5 separate regions of the Homo sapiens genome follow, and all the other regions are linked to region 2. The links are contacts of gene promoters, found by promoter capture Hi-C in blood cells and fetal thymus (Javierre and others, 2016). All regions are on one chromosome and are shown on one strand. The core of a region is centred on a gene start or on the middle of the fragment in contact, and the rest is flanking DNA. Distances in the headings are between cores, read along the strand shown.

Region 1 (3,531 bases), core at 875-3,374, 1.1 Mb after region 2:
ACCCAAAGGTCATGGCTCACAGCCTAGCAGAGGACATAAACTTCAAGCAAGTAACAAATGATTCAAAATTATAATGAAGGCTATAAAGGAAAAGAAGAGGTTACTAAGTTAAATTATAACAGATGGAGTGTGTAGGGCACCTGTAGGGAATTTCGTTAACATGCTTTCAGCTACAAGGAGAAGAAACTCTGAACCAAAGTGGCCTGCGCAATAAAGAAGTTTCTTCTCTCGGTAACTCATGGAGAGCTGGTGGTTTCAGTGGCTCAACCATATTATCAGGTGCCTGGGTTCTTGTTTTGGCTCTGCTGTCCACAGTATCAATTTCCTTTTAAGCCTGAGTCTTTTTATGGTTATAAGAAGTCTCAAAAAAAATTAGATGTTTATTTTTCTCTCACTTAAAGAGTTGCAACTTGGATTTCTTGTCTTCTTGGTCATGTCCAGCAGGAGAGGGAAAGAGGAGTATGCTAGGACTGAGTCCTTCCCTTCGGGCTAATTGGTGCACTGTGGCAGAAAGACTGCTAGTTTTGCATCAAGATCCATGATCCTAAGTTTTCAGTGGGGCACAGAGCCACCTGGAACAAAGATTACATTTCCCAGCTTTCCTAAGAACCAGGTGTGCCCTTTTGACTGTTTTGGCAATAGAGGTAAGTGGAAGTGATTTCTGGGCTATATTCTCACAAGGAAGGGGTGTACCCTTCCCTGTCCCTTCGTGCTTCCTGCTGCTGCAATGTGAATATGATCTGAAGATCTACAGCCACATGTGAAGGTAACAAGGCAATATGGACCCTGAGTGCTTGACAGCTATAACACCATCCCGGCCCCCGGCTGTCTCCTTCCTCACTTCTTTTAAATGAGGGACAGAAATGAATTTCTGTTTCATTCAAACCACTAATTAGGAGAGTTTTCTGCCATGTGAAGCTCCAAACTAATATATTTTCCTTAAGTCATTGCCCAGGCAAGGCTGGGTACAGTGGATCACACCTGTAATCTCAGTGCTTTCCGAGGCTGAAGCAGGAGGATCGCTTGAGCCCATGAGTTTGAGGCTGCGGTGAGCTATGATGGCACCTCTGTACACCAACCTGAGCAACAGAGCAAGACCCTATCTCTGAAAACTAAGGTTGTTGGCAGACAGAGGAATGCCACGGCTGACCGACTTCTTCCTGTGAGTATTCTTCCCCGGACTAAGGTTGTAGTTACAGAGTTTCTCAAGTGACAGAGGGTGTGTGAGGGACAGCTGGGCAAAATCCAGGTACAATTGAGAAAAAAGTAGGGAAGGGTTGCTGTGTAACTGGCCTACAGAGTGTGATCACTACAGAGATTATTAGTTAACCAGGCAAAGAGAGAAGAGCTGAACAAGATAGACTGAAAGTATGTGTTGGGTCCCTGAGCAAGAATGAGCTTAGCGGTGGGTATGTTCAAAGAACTGGAAGAAAGTCAGTAGGATCAGTGAATGGGGAAAATTGAACAAGATGTGGTCAGGTGATGCAGGGCCTTCATTTATCGCCAAGGTAACTGTATATACATGTTTGCCCAGAGCTGTCCTAGTTTTACCATATTTTCCTGGAAAAATTGTAATAGCACTCCCTTTGACTTCAAAAAATGTCCTGGATTGGTTAATAAATTATAGCATTATACCACAAAGATAGTCCATGTTAAGGAATTTGAACTGTATTCTAAACACAGTGGGAAGTAGTCTTTTTCCTTATTTTCTATTAGCGGATATCTTACTATCTCAAACTTTATCATCTAGCTACTCTTTCATTTCTTTCCCTAGGTGAACCTCTAGAAAGTTCTTCCTAAATTGCCCCAAGGGTTATCCAGCCTCAAAAGAACAGATAAAAGCCTATTTCTGCCTTTTCTGAGTCACGTGATGTTCTCTATAAGATTGCTTCTCTCTGCCTGAATTTCTCATCCAGCAATCCAGTTAGGCTGTAAGCAATCTTGCTATGTTATTATAAACTCTACTCTGTGTATTAAATATTCTTGCTTATGGCACTTCTTTTCAAATCTTTTCTAACTTATTTTGACTGATCTTGTAGCCATCCAGTCTGCTGAAAATCTGCCGGCTGCTTCGTGACCTTGAGCAAGTTTCTGAACCTTTCCTTGGCCTCTTTTCTTATTTGTAAAATTGAGCTACCATAGACTGAGTGGCTTAAACAACAGAAATTAATTTGCCACATTTCTAGAAGTCCAAGATCAGGATGCCTTCAGGACTGGTTTCTAGTGAGGCCTCTCTTCCTGGTTTGTGGAGGGCTGCCTTCTCACTGAATCTTCAGAGGGCCTTTTCTCCATGTGCACTCAGGGAGAGAGAGGCCTCTTAGGTCCCTTCCTTGTTTTATGAGGACACTAGTCATACTGGATTAAGACTCACTCTTGCTGGGCGTGGTGGCTCGTGCCTGTAATCCCAGCACTTTGGGAGGCCGAGGCAGGTGGATCACGAGGTCAGGAGTTCGAGACCAGCCAGTTCGAGACCAGCCTGGCTAACATGGTGAAACCCCGTCTCAACTAAAAATACGGAAATTAGCTGGGCCTGGTGGCATGTGCCTGTAATCCCAGCTACTCGGGAGGCTGAGGCAGGAGAATTGCTTGAATTTGGGAGGCGGAGGTTGCAGTCAGCTGAGATCACATCACTGCATTCCAGCCTGGGTGACAGAGTAAGACTCCGTCTCAGAAAAAAAAAAAAAGACTCACTTTTGTGACTCAACCTTTACTACCTTTTTATAGGCCATACTCCAAATACAATCACACTGAGGGTTAGAGCTTCAATGTATGAATTTGGGGGGGTGGGGACACAGTTCAGCTGATAATGGGGTATTAGGGGTAATAAATGAGAAACTGCATGAAAAGCACTTTTAGAGTTTTATATTCTTTATTTCTATATATAAGATATTCATTGGAGAATTAAAATAGCATTTAACTACAAGTGCAGCTACTATTTAAAACCTAAAGATGATGAATAAGATGAATATAATTTATAATAAAATAGCAACATTGCATATATCTTAACTGTTTTTTTTTTTTGTCTGAAAAAAAACTTGCAATATGAGTTGGTTGCTTTATTATGCCAGAGTGTAGGGGGATATTACTTTATACAAAATGACTTGGAAGAAAACAATATCTTTGACACAAGGAATACTAAGTATATTTGAAAGAATAATCTAATACAAACAATAATGTGTGATTATTGTCATTATCTGTCAATTCAGAAAAGAAAAATAACTTAATTTCTAGTGCTTTCACCACAGCTGACACAGTTGTGATCTATTCAATCTCGCTATTTTATTATAAACTAGATTTATCTTATACATCGTCTCTAGGTTTTAAATAAATGCACATGAGCAACAGCTCATGGACACTAACATGCAGAACCAGGTGACACTCCATCATATTTCATCATAACCCCTGATTTTCTTGAAACCTAAGAATTTCACAGAAAAGAACTTGAATCTTGCCCATAATTGTGGTTTATAGACAGTAAGGAGAATGCAGAAGATATTGATGAACATTATAGCCAGAGAGAACAAGGATCCT
Region 2 (3,587 bases), core at 1,088-3,587:
TTCTAGAACTAAAATGAAAATTATTCTTCAAGTGTTAGTCAAAGGAAAACTACTCCAGAAGGAACCAAATATCCAGACGAATTTAACTTAAGAAACAGCTACAATTTAGGCAAACTGGACAGTGGATCCAGTAGGTATTTTAGTAGCCACTAAGAAGACACTGAATCGGGTAGATTCTATAGGGATTGCATATTAGTTATTTAAATACAAATATCCGGCTGGGCACGGTGGCTCACACCTGTAATCCCAGCATTTTGGGAGGTCGGGGGGGTGGGGGCGGTGGGTGGATCACCTGTGTCAGGAGTTCAAGACCAACCTGGCCAAAATGGCAAAACCTGTCTCTACTTAAAATACAAAAATTAGCCGGGCATGGTAGTAGGCAGTAGCAATCCCAGCTACTCAGGAGGCTGGGGCAAGAGAATCGCTTGAATGCAGGAGGTGGAGGTTGCAGTGAGCTGAGATTACACCAGTGAACTCCAGCCTGGGCGATAGAGCAAGACTCCATCTCAAAAAATAAATACATACATACATACATACATACAAATATCCATGGAAAAGTTGATATATTGAGACCTTCTATCAGCCATTCCCACTATAGTGTAATTTAGCTGTTTCTCTGACAGGAATTTTTATTTAAGAAGAAAGAATTTGGAGAAATAGACATAGTAGGAGGTAACAGATCAGGCTCTTTCCACCAGAAGAAACACAAATACCTTAAAAAACAGGAAGAGGCTAGAGAGATCAGTGGGGTACTAAGACCAATTTTCCATGTATTGTATTTTACAATTTTTGCTAAAGGCATGTCCTAATTCCTTAAGGCTGCATAAAAATACTCAGCCCAGGAGCTAAGGAAAATTTACTCAGAGGACAATGTATGTTTTTCTGGCTTTCTTACCCTGTTTCACCCAAGTTTCCAGTTTCACCTGCCATTGGGTTATGATTACTCCAGCACAGATGACTTGTTCCTCTTCCAAACCCCATGAAAGGAACTTAGAAAATTTGTCTTTATTATATCTTTTAATTAACACTTCCCCAACGGGATAATGATACTTCTGGGCTATCTTATGTTCTTTAAATTATGTATTTAATTTCCTAGCAATCAATAAGAGCCTTGAAGGTTTTGTAAGTCTCACAACTCCTACCTAGTTTATATTTTTACATTTATTTATTTATTTATTTTTGAGACAGAATCTCACTCTGTTGTCCAGGCTGGAGTGAAGTGGTGCGATCTCGGCTCACCACAATCTCCACCTCCCGGCTTCAAGCAATTCTGCCTCAGCCTCCCAAGTAGTTGGGACTACAGGCATGCACCACCACGCCCGGCTAATTTTTGTATTTTTAGTAGAGACGGGTTTCACTATGTTGGCCAGGCTGGTCTCGAACTCCTGACCTCGTGATCCACCCACCTCAGCATCCCAAAGTGTTGGGATTACAGGCGTGAGCCATCGTGCCCAGCCTAGTTCATATTTTTAAAGTTTGTATAGATTTATAGATGCTTTTAAAAATTATGTGATTATGTGTCTTGCCTTGGCAACCTGGGCAGGCATTCCAGACACCCAAAGGGATTATTAGTTCATGTTCGCACGTCTGCCCAGCAACAAAACTGAGCAGCCTCCACCAAGCACGTAAAATCCCCATTCCTCCTCTTATTCATTTATTTAGCACTTAATAGTGCCAGGCAGGAAGGTAAAAATACATTTAAAAAGGAATGGAGGTAGCCGTCTTGCCCTGGAGGTGCAGGAAGCTGCACTTCAGTGTGCTAGGTAGAGGGTACATAGGCCGTTTCTGTTTTTCTTCCAGCTCAGGGATTTATAATGAGAGGAAGTGCTACAAAAAGCTGTGGTGCGAAAATGACGGACGCTATGAATGGAAAAAAAATCTAAAATCAATCCGGTCCTAAGCAAACACGCTTCACCTACACTCATAACTATTGCAGACCTCCGAGGCCTGGGATCCCCAAGAATATACTGAGTTTGACAAACTTTTCAACTTCAACTTTAAATTAAAAAGACAGTAAAAGAACCAAATCCATAGTACACAGCAATCGGCTAAAGTTCCTGGGGCCCTGCAACCCAGAGTTGAATAATTTTGTATTAAATTCCCAATATCAAGCTAAATCTATTTTAACCACAGGAAAAGCAGCAACTTGTCTGGCTATTTTAAAAATCTGAACAGCACTTAGGAAGAAGCACCTTAGCGCAGGGAACAGCTCAGTGCCCCGTGACACAACTCTCCCGCGGGCCCAGGGACGCCTCGTCTCGCGAGAGTTGAGGGACGCCTGAGCGAACCCCCGAGAGAGCGGGCGTGGGCGCCAGGCGGGCGGGGCACTGGGGATTAATTGTTCGGCGATCGCTGGCTGCCGGGACTTTTCTCGCGCTGGTCTCTTCGGTGGTCAGGGATGGCGCGGAAGTCGAACTTGCCTGTGCTTCTCGTGCCGTTTCTGCTCTGCCAGGCCCTAGTGCGCTGCTCCAGCCCTCTGCCCCTGGTCGTCAACACTTGGCCCTTTAAGAATGCAACCGAAGCAGGTGCGGGTTGGCGGCCTGGGCGGGCGGCTGCGCCGCGAGAGCTTGCGGGTGGGGATGACTAGCCCGCCCCGCTGCAGTCACCCGGCAGGGCGGACGGAAGAGCGCCGGGCTGGGCCGGGCCTCGCGGTCCCGCCCTCTAGGTCTTCCCGAGTCTCCAGCGCCGCTCAGTCTCTTGCAAGTGGCCTTTACTGCATCCTCCCCACCTACCGCTGTTGCATTTTAGGTCCTCCCTTCATGCAGCCCCCAGCGCAATGTATTTTCCACCCTGCTGCTGACCATAGTTATGGCCTTTGTGCTTTAATCAAGTAGCAGCTACGCTTTTCTGCCTGACAGTCTTTTCACGGGCTGTGTACGTCTCCACCTCTCGTTTCTAATCCTTCACTTCTTTGCAATTTTGTAGACGACTAATAGTGTCCCAGCCATAGCCTACTCTTTTCCCATTTACTTTTTTTGCCACGTGTTGTCATACTTTACCTGCCACTTAGAATTCAAGGTTCCAACCTTTGCTGTACATTCACACTATCTGGGGAGCTTCTCAAAAATCATCCTGCCGGGGCCCACCTCCTGTGACTGTGATCTAACTGCTGGAATCAGGGCCACTGTTTTTCTTTAAAAAGCTCCCTAGGTGATTTCGATTTGCAGACAGGGTTGAGAACCACTAAGCTAAGGTATCACCTCTTCCAGGAAGCGTTCCCTGACTTAACTGCCCTCGTGTCCAGAATGAGTTAGGTTCCTGCCTTCTACACCTTGTTAATAGCCTTTACGTACCATTATCTTGGCATTTTCGCATTGTACTATGCTTGTTTCTTTCATTTGCTTAATGACCAGAAGAGTCATTTTCAGACCCCTCCTCCTCCATCTGAGGTTGCTAACGTATTAACTTTCTAGGGCAGAATTGGCTCCAGAATTTGGTGGCAGTGCATACGATTCAGAGAAAATGAAGAAGCAGGCTGTGAGAAAGATATTCCCAGCCATAATGAGACGAAAAGAAATTGCATCAGCCTGGGCGGGGGACAGTTCTGTGTTTAAGTTGCCTGTATTGAAAGAGGGAACTTGCGTAAA
Region 3 (3,461 bases), core at 701-3,200, 1.1 Mb after region 2:
TCAACCCTGGGGCGGCAGTCACAAGCTGGAAGACACCTGGGTCCTTCAGTCACACCATGTGGAAAGCTGCCTCAATACCCACATTGGTTCCTTGTAAAAACGAGAAATAAACTTTTGTTTTCTTTTGAGATGGAGTCTCACTCTGTAGCCCAGGCTGGAGTGCAGTGGAGCTCTTGGTTCACTGCAACTTCCGCCTCCCAGGTCCAGGTTCAAGCAGTTCTCCTGCCTCAGCCTCCCCAGTAGCTGGGATTACAGGCACATGCCACCATGCCCAGCTAATCTTTGTATTTTTAGTAGAGATGGGGTTTCACCATGTTGGCTAGGCTAGTCTTGAACTCCTGATGTCGTGATCTATCCCCCTCAGCCTCCCAAAGTGCTGGGATTATAGGCGTGAGCCACCGTGCCCAAACTTTTTCTTATGCTACCAAAAGTTTGATGTCACCTATCATAGCACTTGGTGTTATTTTAACTAACAGAATGTTTAATCAGACTTTCAAATGTTGAGATGAGGGCAAGAGTCAGGTAGCAATCAATCTCTCTCTTAATCTCAATTAAGTGTGATTCCCAGTTAGACTTTTAGTCATCCTGGGTTGTCGGTGCACGTGCAGAGAATTAACAGCATTTAGAGATTCTTAAAGCAGCAGCAGAGGCTGCACAGTTGGATAAGCCATGGATTTCTCAAATAAATTTGAGCGAGACCCACACAACCTTGAGCAGACTTATAAGATGAATTTGTTTCAGATTCCTCAGCGCATGTCAGAACCCACTTCCTCCCCACTCACATCTGTTAGATTCCTTCCCACCCTTTGTACTCACTCACTAGGGAGCTTGCAGCCATTCCAAGCCACTCACGAGCAAGCATAGGGCTTAGGAGCACAAACATGGTACTTTTTAGAAGAAATGCACAGAGGCTTTGTCTCCAGTATAGTACTAATCAGTCCCTTTACTTCTCAACTCTTAGGTGCCTATTTCCAACTATACTCAACAGATACACAAGTGGAATGTGTATAAATTATGCACATGAAAAGGGAACACTTCAAAGCTCCTTCAAGCTTGAGGTTTATTTGGATATAAAGGTATACTTATTAAAGTGGTAAGTTTTCTTTTGGTCATGGCAACTCATTAATCAGGCAACAATTTACTGAACTCCGAATTCTTAACACTTCACTGGGAGAGAGGGAAAAGGACAAGAGAGTATGAGGAAAAACGTTTAAAAGAGAAAGTTCTGGTATACACTTGCCCAGGTTGAGAGAAAACAAAATAAAATGTAGCTGACCTCTTTTATCATTCCTGGTAACATACACTTAGGTTAAAATCCCTTACCCTCTAAATGCAATGATTTTCTGTTGTTTTGAGGGGGTATTTCTGTTTTGATTGTCTGAATTCACTAGTAAATAAACGTTCCCTTAGTGAGCCAGACCAGCCAATGTGCCCAAGAAGCTGGTGGAGGATCAGCCAACACCCTGGCCTTTCAAAGAGTCAGCTATTTGTTTTAACCCATTTCTTCCTGAGCTATACTTTAAACATGCATCCTGAGTTTTTTTTTTTTTCTTGATCAGGTCTACGGTAGGGTTTTCCAGTGTTATTTCAAAGTAAAGCAATTTATGTATCAATCTTATCACTAGCCACTATCACTTGGCTCTCTTAGCAAGTCAGAAAGAACATAGGTCACAGCAACTAGAGCAAGAGCAGCATTTACCTTTACTGAACTGTCCAACTGCCCCTGATAAGATCTAATGTCATTAGGAGCTCAAGAATGAAAAAAAAAAAACAGCACTTACAAAGGAGGACGGTATTAATGACAAAGAATCCCCATGGTTTGGTCACATTAGAAACACAACGCCTTCATTCTTCATCAATATTTATTGGGCGCCTATTATGTGCAAGGCACTACACTAGGCGCTGGGGAAGATACAAAGATAAATCTGACAGACTGCCCTCAAAGAGCTTACAGTCTAGTATAGGAGCATACAGTCTCTGGAGAAGATATTTTAAGTGTAACTAACCTCCCCCATCCCACCCCCACAAAAAAAAAGAAAAAACCTACTAGACTTGGTTTCTTCCATTTACTTTTAGTTTAGCAGCTTCACGTAAAAAGCATAAATCTGAAAGTCTTTTAAAATGCATACTTTTACTGGTAAACAAAATTCATTTTCATTAGAAAAAATGCTGAATATTTATTGCAATTAAGAAAAATCTTCAGCCGGGCACGGTGGCTCACACCTGTTATCCTAACACTTTGGGAGGCCGAGGCAGGTGGATCACTTGAGGTCAGGAGTTTGAGACCAGCCTGGCCAACATAGCAAAACCCCGTCTCTACTGAAAATACAAAAATTAGCCGGACGTGGTGGCGGGCGCCTGTAATCCCAGCTACTCCGGAGGCTGAGGCAGGAGAATCGCTTGAACCTGGGGGGTGGAGGTTGCAGTAAGCCAAGATCGCGCCACTTCACTCTAGCCTGGGCGTAAGAGCAGATCTCCGTCTCAGAAAAAATAAAAAAATTTAAAAAGGAAAAGAAAAATCCTCAAACATATGTTCAGTATTTTCATGAATTTTTTTATGAATGACTACATTGTGAAGTAAACAATTTCCCAAATTGCATCAAAAACATGCAACAATTTTTTGAAACATCTCTTTAAACTACTGAAAGTCACACATGTAACATATACAGGCTTCTCTCTGCTAAAAGCAAGGAAAGTTTTGAAATGAATATATGCTTGTTTGCTACCAATGTTCACAGCTCATGGTTTTCCCCCATGAACCCACTTCATGTCAATGCAAAGTATTATAAAATAATACCTCCATTGACATATACCCGAAAGATCCAAAGCTCTAGATCTCTAAGCTTCAGATAGAAAAAAAAATAGTGAAAAATGTTCATTATCAATTAATAGCTGGGCTTTAAGATTATCATCTTAGAGAAAAAGCCCAGCTTTTCATCTCTAAGATGAAATCTTTAAAAAGCCCATCTATCATCTCTAAGATGATAATCTTAAAGCCCAGCTATGAATTGGCTGACGAGACCCACCAAAGAACTGTAAAATAATTCCAGGAAAGGAAACTCAAAACCCACTTTCTTATTACACCCTTAGGAATTTCTGAAGTTTTTGTTATTTTCCTTTCAGAATAAAGAAACCAAATGTAATCAATCAGGGGAATAAAAAAATACTGATACAGATGTTTGTCTAGGTTAAACTGTTAGAGAAAGGGATATGTGAACACATTTTTAAATTAATTCATTTCTAACCATAATTACTTTTAAATAAGTGTCTTCAAATTATTCTCTTTTCTCAGAATCATTTCTGGGCTCAGGTATTTCTAATCATACTCAGTTTTGTATAAGCCTGAAGCTTTGTGTCTTTGTAGAACATTATGAGACTTCTTTAAAACACTGAGACTAAAGCAAATGAACTGGTTATCAAACTGAACACAAGTCAATTTTTTAAATGTAGAAACTGCACCC
Region 4 (3,361 bases), core at 739-3,238, 1.4 Mb after region 2:
TCTCCAAGTAATTAAAAAACTGCCACTGGCCCTGTCCCTCCTTTCCCAGACTAAAGGATACAAGATAGAGTCTGTAGAAAACAGCAACAACAAAAGCAATCTAGCCCTAGTCTCCCCTCTACTGGGAGCATTGTTTTTCTGGCCTAAATTAATTTATGGCTTTCTAATCTATGGAATTATTTATGTGACTAATGGGTAACTTAAAAATATTTAGAACACCACTATTTATCATTAGAAATAAGAAGAATAAAGAATGTTAAAACTTTCAAGTAAGCATATTTAACGTCTTCTTCAGATGTCCACAGTTTTTTAAGCAGTTCTATTAATATCAACACAAGAGAAAGTCAGAACAATGTAAACAATAACATTCAACTAGTTATTTTTACATAATTACGTTTGCAGAACTCAAGAGCTTTACTTTCCGTATATGCCCTTTGAAATAAGTCATTGCTTTAAAACTTCCCAGGAACTCTAAAGCTACCATTTGTAACATTAATCTCCAAACAATCCAGTAAAGGATGTTTCCCAAAATATTAACGAATTGACAACTTTTCAAAAGCACTTAATAACTATATTTAATTTTAGATGATAGGAGGGGAAAGGTTCTCAGACCACCTATCTCAGACGTCTGCCTTCAAAACAGTTAGATATAACTATATCCATTTTCTTGAACACTTAGGCCAGTGAGGCAGAATCTCAAAAGGATGTAAGAGTGCTTTCTCCACAGAGTTTGTTTCACCACCCGCCCAGCATCAGCTCCTGGCAAGCAGGGTAATGATAAGGCATAAATCTACAAATAAATTAATGCTTAAACTCTTGTGGAGTTCAAATTTATAAATTCTCATAAATTCATTGTCATTTATTTTCTAATTTTTACAACGCAGAAATGTTATTAGAGTGCTAAGAACGGCAACTATAATCTCACATTGTTGGGCTTTGGCCGTTTCGTATCCTTTTACAACGAACTTGTGTTTTTTTGATAGTTTTCTCTAAAGGGTATTTATGAAAGATTCAGAAATGTAGTATCTCTCTTCAAACCCTTGTTAAATATATATAGTATATATGTATATATTAATATGCAAAATAATTTATTTTTGATGCATGGTCGGACTTTTCATTACTTTTCATTCGAATCAATTGCTTTTAATTAATATATTTAAAAAGTCTCCTTAAATTGTTTGTTCCTTTCAATCTTTGCAAGCAAAACAAGTCTGATTTTGGAGAGGGGAGGACAGCAAAGATTCTATTTTACGATCTACTTAATAAATAGTATACCTGCCTTATATCCAATACCGTCTTTTTTCTGGAACGCATTTCCTTTTTACTCAAACCTTTCTTAGTACAACCCTACTAATAAGTCCATCTTCAAAGGGGTAAATGATCTATACAGAAGTGTCTGGCCGGCGGAGGGATGAGAACAGCAACCTAGGCTCTAGACATATACTTAATAGCCATAAAAATAAAACAATGTCCCTCGAAATGTCCACAGTTTACACTGCAATGGTAGTTTAGATACATAAATATTCGCTGCTTGCTGTGCCTTGTAAGAATCAGGTGTGTGGCTCTAAAACTCAGTTGATTATCTCATCAGGCACCATGGTGTGCAAAGCCCTGCAGGACGTACATTACCCTGGTCCGCGATCACAGGGAGGTCAGAGCCCCTCTCGCATGACGCCGCGACAGTTCCAGCATCACCCACATCAATCCTGAGCTTGCCTTGGTATCTCTGCGGCCCCACCGGCTTCTTACCTGGAGGAGGAGGCGGCTGCAGCGGCGGACAGCGGAAGGTGCTGAAGCCGGCGGGCGCAGCTGCGAGGCGAGCACCACCAACGCGCGGACCCTCCCCGCCCTCCCCGCCTGCTCGCTCAGGGCGCCCGGGGGCGGGGCGGCCGGGCCCGCGGGCTCCGAGGGGCGGGAAGCGTGCTCCGCAAGCCCCAGCGCGGAGCCACGATGGAAGGCGCCGCGAGCCCGATCTCCAGGGTCTGCCCCAGAGGCCCACGTGACAGCTACACAGGTCGCTGATTGGAGCGCCCGAGAGGGGGAGGCGGAAGTGGCTCGTGACCCTTGGAGACTAGGCTGAGGGAGAAGTGGTTACCTGGCAACAGAGAAAGTGTGTTGAAGGCGCAGCTCCTCCGTACTGGAGCGAGGCTTTGGGCAGAGGGTTTGCACTGAGGCTGAAAGTGGAGGAAAACGGTGAACCATCAGCGTTCTCACCACCTAACACATTTTATAGCGAGTCTGCACTTTCTAGGAAAATGAGTCAAATATACAGTAAGTCAGTCATCCTGTCTCTTTCTTGAGGGACCTGGAGGAGGGACTTGAACCAGTGCCTGGAATGTGAGTGCAGAATGCTGTCTCGCCTGCACTTCATTATTGTCTGATTGGGCCCAAGAAGGTCTGTGGGAGAGCTCAATGGATAAGATTATTTGTTTATATTAATCGAGTTGTATGTGGTTAATGTATCTGCCTTCACAAAACTGACATTTTCCCTGTGGGATCTGGTTGAATGGAAGTGCTGGATGTTGTCATTCCTACTGGATTCTTCACATCTCTGAAATATCTTCACTACCTGTGGCCTTTATCCAACACACTAGAGAGAATAAGCCTCGACGTACTCGAAACAAAGTGTATTTAATGACATCTATCGAGAATTAATTATACTCCACTCTAAATAGTTAATAAATGAATGGTCGACCTCAACCAGAGAAAGTCCCTGGGCCTAATTCTTACCTTCCTATGCAGTAGATTTTAATGCTCCTTTTTTCCAAAATATTCTCTGCAGAGACGAGTACCTACCACAGCACTCAATATTCTATATTGTAAATTAAAATTAACTTAAATGTTGGATTTCCATATAAAGAATAAACTTGTTAAAGCTAAAATCAGTTCTTACAACTCCGTCCCCTATATTCTAACAAAGTATCTGATGAATAGCAGGTCTTCAATTAATTCTTGATGGATAGATGGATAAAGAAAGAAAGAAATTAGCACATAATCTACCAGAGAAAGTATAAGGGCAATAACTAAATATAACTCAATGTGTTAAGTACTAAAATAGGGTTACATAAAAGTGCTATGAGATGATTTCAGATGAGGGAGGCAGAACTTTTTCTTCCAAGGTATTCAGAGAAGCTTTCAATATGATTAGTATTTGAGCAGGGACTTATAAATAGGTAGAATTTCACCTGATAAAAAGGGGAAAGTGTATACTATGCAGCAGGAGCAGCATTGCCAAAAGCATAAAGTGGGAAAAAATAAACGATTGATGTAAATAAATTTGATGTTTTTGCCTTCTCCGGAGTTGGGGATGTGAATCCAAAGATAAGAAGGAAGATGGAAATTGGCAAAAGACTGTACTAGA
Region 5 (3,559 bases), core at 565-3,064, 1.4 Mb after region 2:
TGTTGGAAAACTCTTTTCCCAGTTGGCAGTCTGTGTTCTTTTATACATATATATATGTATAATATATATATATGTATAATATATATATGTATAAGTATAATATATATATATTATATGAAGTATTATATATTATACTTTAAGTTTTAGGGTACATGTGCACAATGTGCAGGTTTGTTACATATGTATACATGTGCCATGTTGGTGTGCTGCACCCATTAACTTGTCATTTACATTAGGTATATCTCCTAATGCTATCCCTCCGCCATCCTTCCACCCCACAACAGGCCCCGGTGTGTGATGTTCTCCTTCCTGTGTCCAAATGTTCTCATTGTTCAATTCCCAATGCTCACTATCACTGGCCATCAGAGAAATGCAAATCAAAACCACAATGAGATACCATCTCACACCAGTTAGAATGGCAATCATTAAAAAGTTAGGAAACAACAGGTGCTGGAGAGGATGTGGAGAAATAGGAACACTTTTACACTGTTGGTGGGACTGTAAACTAGTTCAACCATTGTGGAAGACAGTGTGGCAATTCCTCAGGGATCTAGAACTAGAAATACCATTTGACCCAGCCATCCCATTACTGGGTATATACCCAAAGGATTATAAACCATGCTGCTACAAAGACACATGCACACATATGTTTATTGCAGCACTATTCACAATAGCAAAGACTTGGAACCAAACCCAAATGTCCATCAATGATAGAATGGATTAAGAAAATGTGGCACATATACACCATGGAATACTATGCAACCATAAAAAAGGATGAGTTCATGTCCTTTGTAGGGACATGGATGAAGCTGGAAACCATCATTCTCAGCAAACTATCGCAAGGGCTGTCTGTGTTCTATAATCAATGTATTTGAAGAGGTGCTAATGTTCTTGAGAAAGAAGAAAAGGATTTCCTACTACTTCTTTTTCATCATTGAACACATATCTGAGCTTTGTCTTTAAACCAAGTAATTCAATACAAAACTACTGGTGGTTATCTGAAAGCCCTAAAGCTTAGCACGTGTATATTTTAGTGATGTTTATGATCATATAATATCTTGCCAATGTGCAAAAAGTGTAAAACTGGAAAATTCTTGTCTCATGCATACACCTCTACAGATTCATGCCAATTCACCTACTATTAAGGAGACCAGTGAGTACTCATTCTTACCATCACAGAAACTTAAGTGACAATTGTTTCTAGTGAAACAATACTTACATATGCAGCTTCTATGTGGTCTACTTTAAATGTATAATCCTGTTTAATATTTAATCATTAAGATATGCTAAATAATAATAATTAAAATATGAGTCTTAAGTCACAGACTGGGAGAAAATATTTGCAAAAACTATTTGATAAATGACTGTTAGTCAAAATAAACAAAGAACTTTAAAAACTCAACCATAAGAAAAACAACCTGATTTACAAAAGGCAAAAGATTTGAACAGACACCTAATCAGAGATAATAATAATATATGAAATGAGAATATGAAAAGATGTTCCACATCGTTATGTCATTAGAGAATTGGAAATTAAAACAACAATGAGACAATTCTACACAACTGTGAGATGGCAAAAATCCAAAATACTGATAAGAATGTGGAGACACTGGAGCTTCTCACGCACTGCTAGTTGAAAGACAATTTGGCACTTTCTTATAAAACTAAACATGCTCTTACCATAAAATCCAGCAGTCTCACTCCCTGTTATTTACGTAAATAAGTTGAAAACTTATATGCACACAAAAACCTGCATACGGATGATTATAGCAGCTTTATTCATAATTGTCTAAACTTGGATGCAACCAAGATGTCCTTCAGTAGGTGAATGGATAAACTATGGTGCATTTAAACAATTAAATAGTATTTAGGACTGAAAAGAAATGAGCTATCTAGGCATGAAAAGACATGGAGGAACCATAAATACATATTACTAAGTGTAAGGAGCCAATACTGTATGATTTTAACTATAAGGCTACACAGTGTATGATTAAAACTATATAACATTCTGGAAAAGGCAAAACTATGGAGTTGGTAAAAGGATCTGTGGTTGCCAAGAGTTAGTGGGGAGGGAGGAAGGAATAAGTGGAGCACAGAAGATTTTTAGAGCAATGAAACTATTCTGCATACTATGATGGTGGGTACAAGTCATTTATGCACTTGTCCAAACCCATAGACCATGTAACACCAAGAGTGAACCACAGTGTAAGCCATGGACTTTGGAAGATAATGATGTGTCAATGTAGGTTCATTGATTGTAACTAATGAACTGTTTTTATGGGGAATGTTGATAGTGGAGGAGCCTATGCATGTGTTGGGTAGGGGGATATGGAAACTCTCCATATCTTCCATTCGGTTTTGCTGAGAACCTAAACTACTATTTTAAATAGTCTATAAAGTGCAAGAAAGAAAGAGACAGAGAGAGAGGAGAAAGAGAAGGAAAGAAAGAAGTAAAAGAAAGAAAGAAAGAAAGAAGAAAAAAGAAAAAAGAAAAAGAGAAACTTGCTTTCTCAACTGACAGTTGCAACCTCTACATTTGAAAATACTGACATGAACAAAATGAATCATCTATCTCATGGAAGGGAGGAATTTTCTCCAAAGAAAGGCAAAGCTTTAAATAAGAAATGAGAGTATGATGGAAGCTATCTTCCCCTCAGCTTTAAAAATCCTAATAATGTATACCTAAGTATATCTGATTGTGTCCTATGCAATGGAACATTTTTGTATAGTATCATGATGTCAGCTAAGTTGTGACGTCATTTTGAGACCAACCATTCAGAGTTTTTAAAAAAGAAATTATAAATTTTAGGCTGGGCACAGTGGCTCATGCTTGTAATCCCAACACTGGGAGGCCAAGGTGGGCAGATCACCTGAGGTTAGGAGTTTGAGACCAGCCTGACCAACATGGTGAAACCCCGTCTCTACCAAGAATACAAAATTAGCCGGGCATGTTGGGGCATGCCTGTAATCCCAGGCTACTCAGGAAGCTGAGAGAGGAGAATTGCTTGAACCCAGGAAGCAGAGGTTGCAGTGAGCTGAGATCACACTATTGCCCTCCAGCCTGGGCAACAAGAGCAAAACTCCGTCTCAAAAAAAAAAAAAAGAAAGAAAGAAAGAAAGAAAGAAAGAAATTATATATTTTAAATGTAGATACTATGAGCTCTTTAAAAGCCAAAGTTTATTGTAAGTTCCAAACTAGGAATGAAAAAGTCACTGAAACACTCTGCAGGTTTTAAATTCTAACGAGGTAAATATTGATCAATATAACTCAGATTAAAAGCTTTTTAGGAACACCTCAACCCCCCTCTTAAGAGAAATGTGTTCCAAAACCAAAATGTAAGAAAACCACTCTGGATTATCCTTACCAGTGATAGTTCATTTCTTGCTATAACCTGCATAAGGAGCTATTTTTATGAAATTCTAAGAACCTACAACTTCTGGGTCTAAACTTTGGTGCTTCCAGCTCAGGAAGCTGGTTTTCCATGACCTGAGAGACTTTGACCAAAGTTAACTTTTTATCTCTTTGGCTTTTTTTCTCTTTTGCTTGTTTTAAATTTTT

What was found. The method cuts DNA at HindIII sites, captures the fragments that hold promoters and counts their contacts. A CHiCAGO score of 5 or more calls a contact.
Region 1: a contact is called between a fragment that was not itself captured here and the fragment with the promoter of AGA in region 2, in 1 of 17 cell types (total B cells). The highest score is 5.3, in total B cells.
Region 3: a fragment that was not itself captured here is called in contact with the fragment with the promoter of AGA in region 2 in 7 of 17 cell types (non-activated CD4 T cells, activated CD4 T cells, naive B cells and 4 more); the score reaches 8.9 in non-activated CD4 T cells.
Region 4: the fragment with the promoter of WDR17 here is called in contact with the fragment with the promoter of AGA in region 2 in 3 of 17 cell types (naive B cells, total B cells and non-activated CD4 T cells); the score reaches 7.0 in naive B cells.
Region 5: a contact is called between a fragment that was not itself captured here and the fragment with the promoter of AGA in region 2, in 1 of 17 cell types (naive B cells). The highest score is 6.4, in naive B cells.

What each region holds. Positions count from the first base shown.
Region 1 is chr4:176,305,381-176,308,911 of GRCh38, reverse strand. SPCS3-AS1 (SPCS3 antisense RNA 1) reads left to right here. Exons shown (of 4, transcript NR_186171.1): 3 at 445-644; 4 at 945-954. Among named protein-coding and RNA genes, the nearest start is that of SPCS3, 13 kb to the left of the region's middle. The HindIII fragment of the contact is 7,935 bases long and covers 1-3,531 here.
Region 2 is chr4:177,441,187-177,444,773 of GRCh38, reverse strand. It overlaps AGA (aspartylglucosaminidase), which reads left to right and starts at 2,337. Exons shown (of 9, transcript NM_000027.4): 1 at 2,337-2,525. The coding sequence starts at 2,399. It also overlaps a transcript of AGA-DT not described here. RefSeq lists enhancers at 1,672-1,751, 1,842-2,385, 3,212-3,291. The HindIII fragment of the contact is 8,233 bases long and covers 1-3,587 here.
Region 3 is chr4:176,330,629-176,334,089 of GRCh38, reverse strand. It overlaps SPCS3 (signal peptidase complex subunit 3), which reads right to left. Exons shown (of 5, transcript NM_021928.4): 5 at 1,845-3,461. Among named protein-coding and RNA genes, the nearest start is that of SPCS3-AS1, 12 kb to the right of the region's middle. The HindIII fragment of the contact is 1,791 bases long and covers 1,055-2,845 here.
Region 4 is chr4:176,064,468-176,067,828 of GRCh38, reverse strand. It overlaps WDR17 (WD repeat domain 17), which reads right to left and starts at 1,988. Exons shown (of 29, transcript NM_181265.4): 1 at 1,750-1,988. RefSeq lists a silencer at 1,733-2,112. The HindIII fragment of the contact is 5,440 bases long and covers 1-3,134 here.
Region 5 is chr4:176,014,826-176,018,384 of GRCh38, reverse strand. No RefSeq gene overlaps it. Among named protein-coding and RNA genes, the nearest start is that of WDR17, 49 kb to the left of the region's middle. The HindIII fragment of the contact is 1,598 bases long and covers 1,016-2,613 here.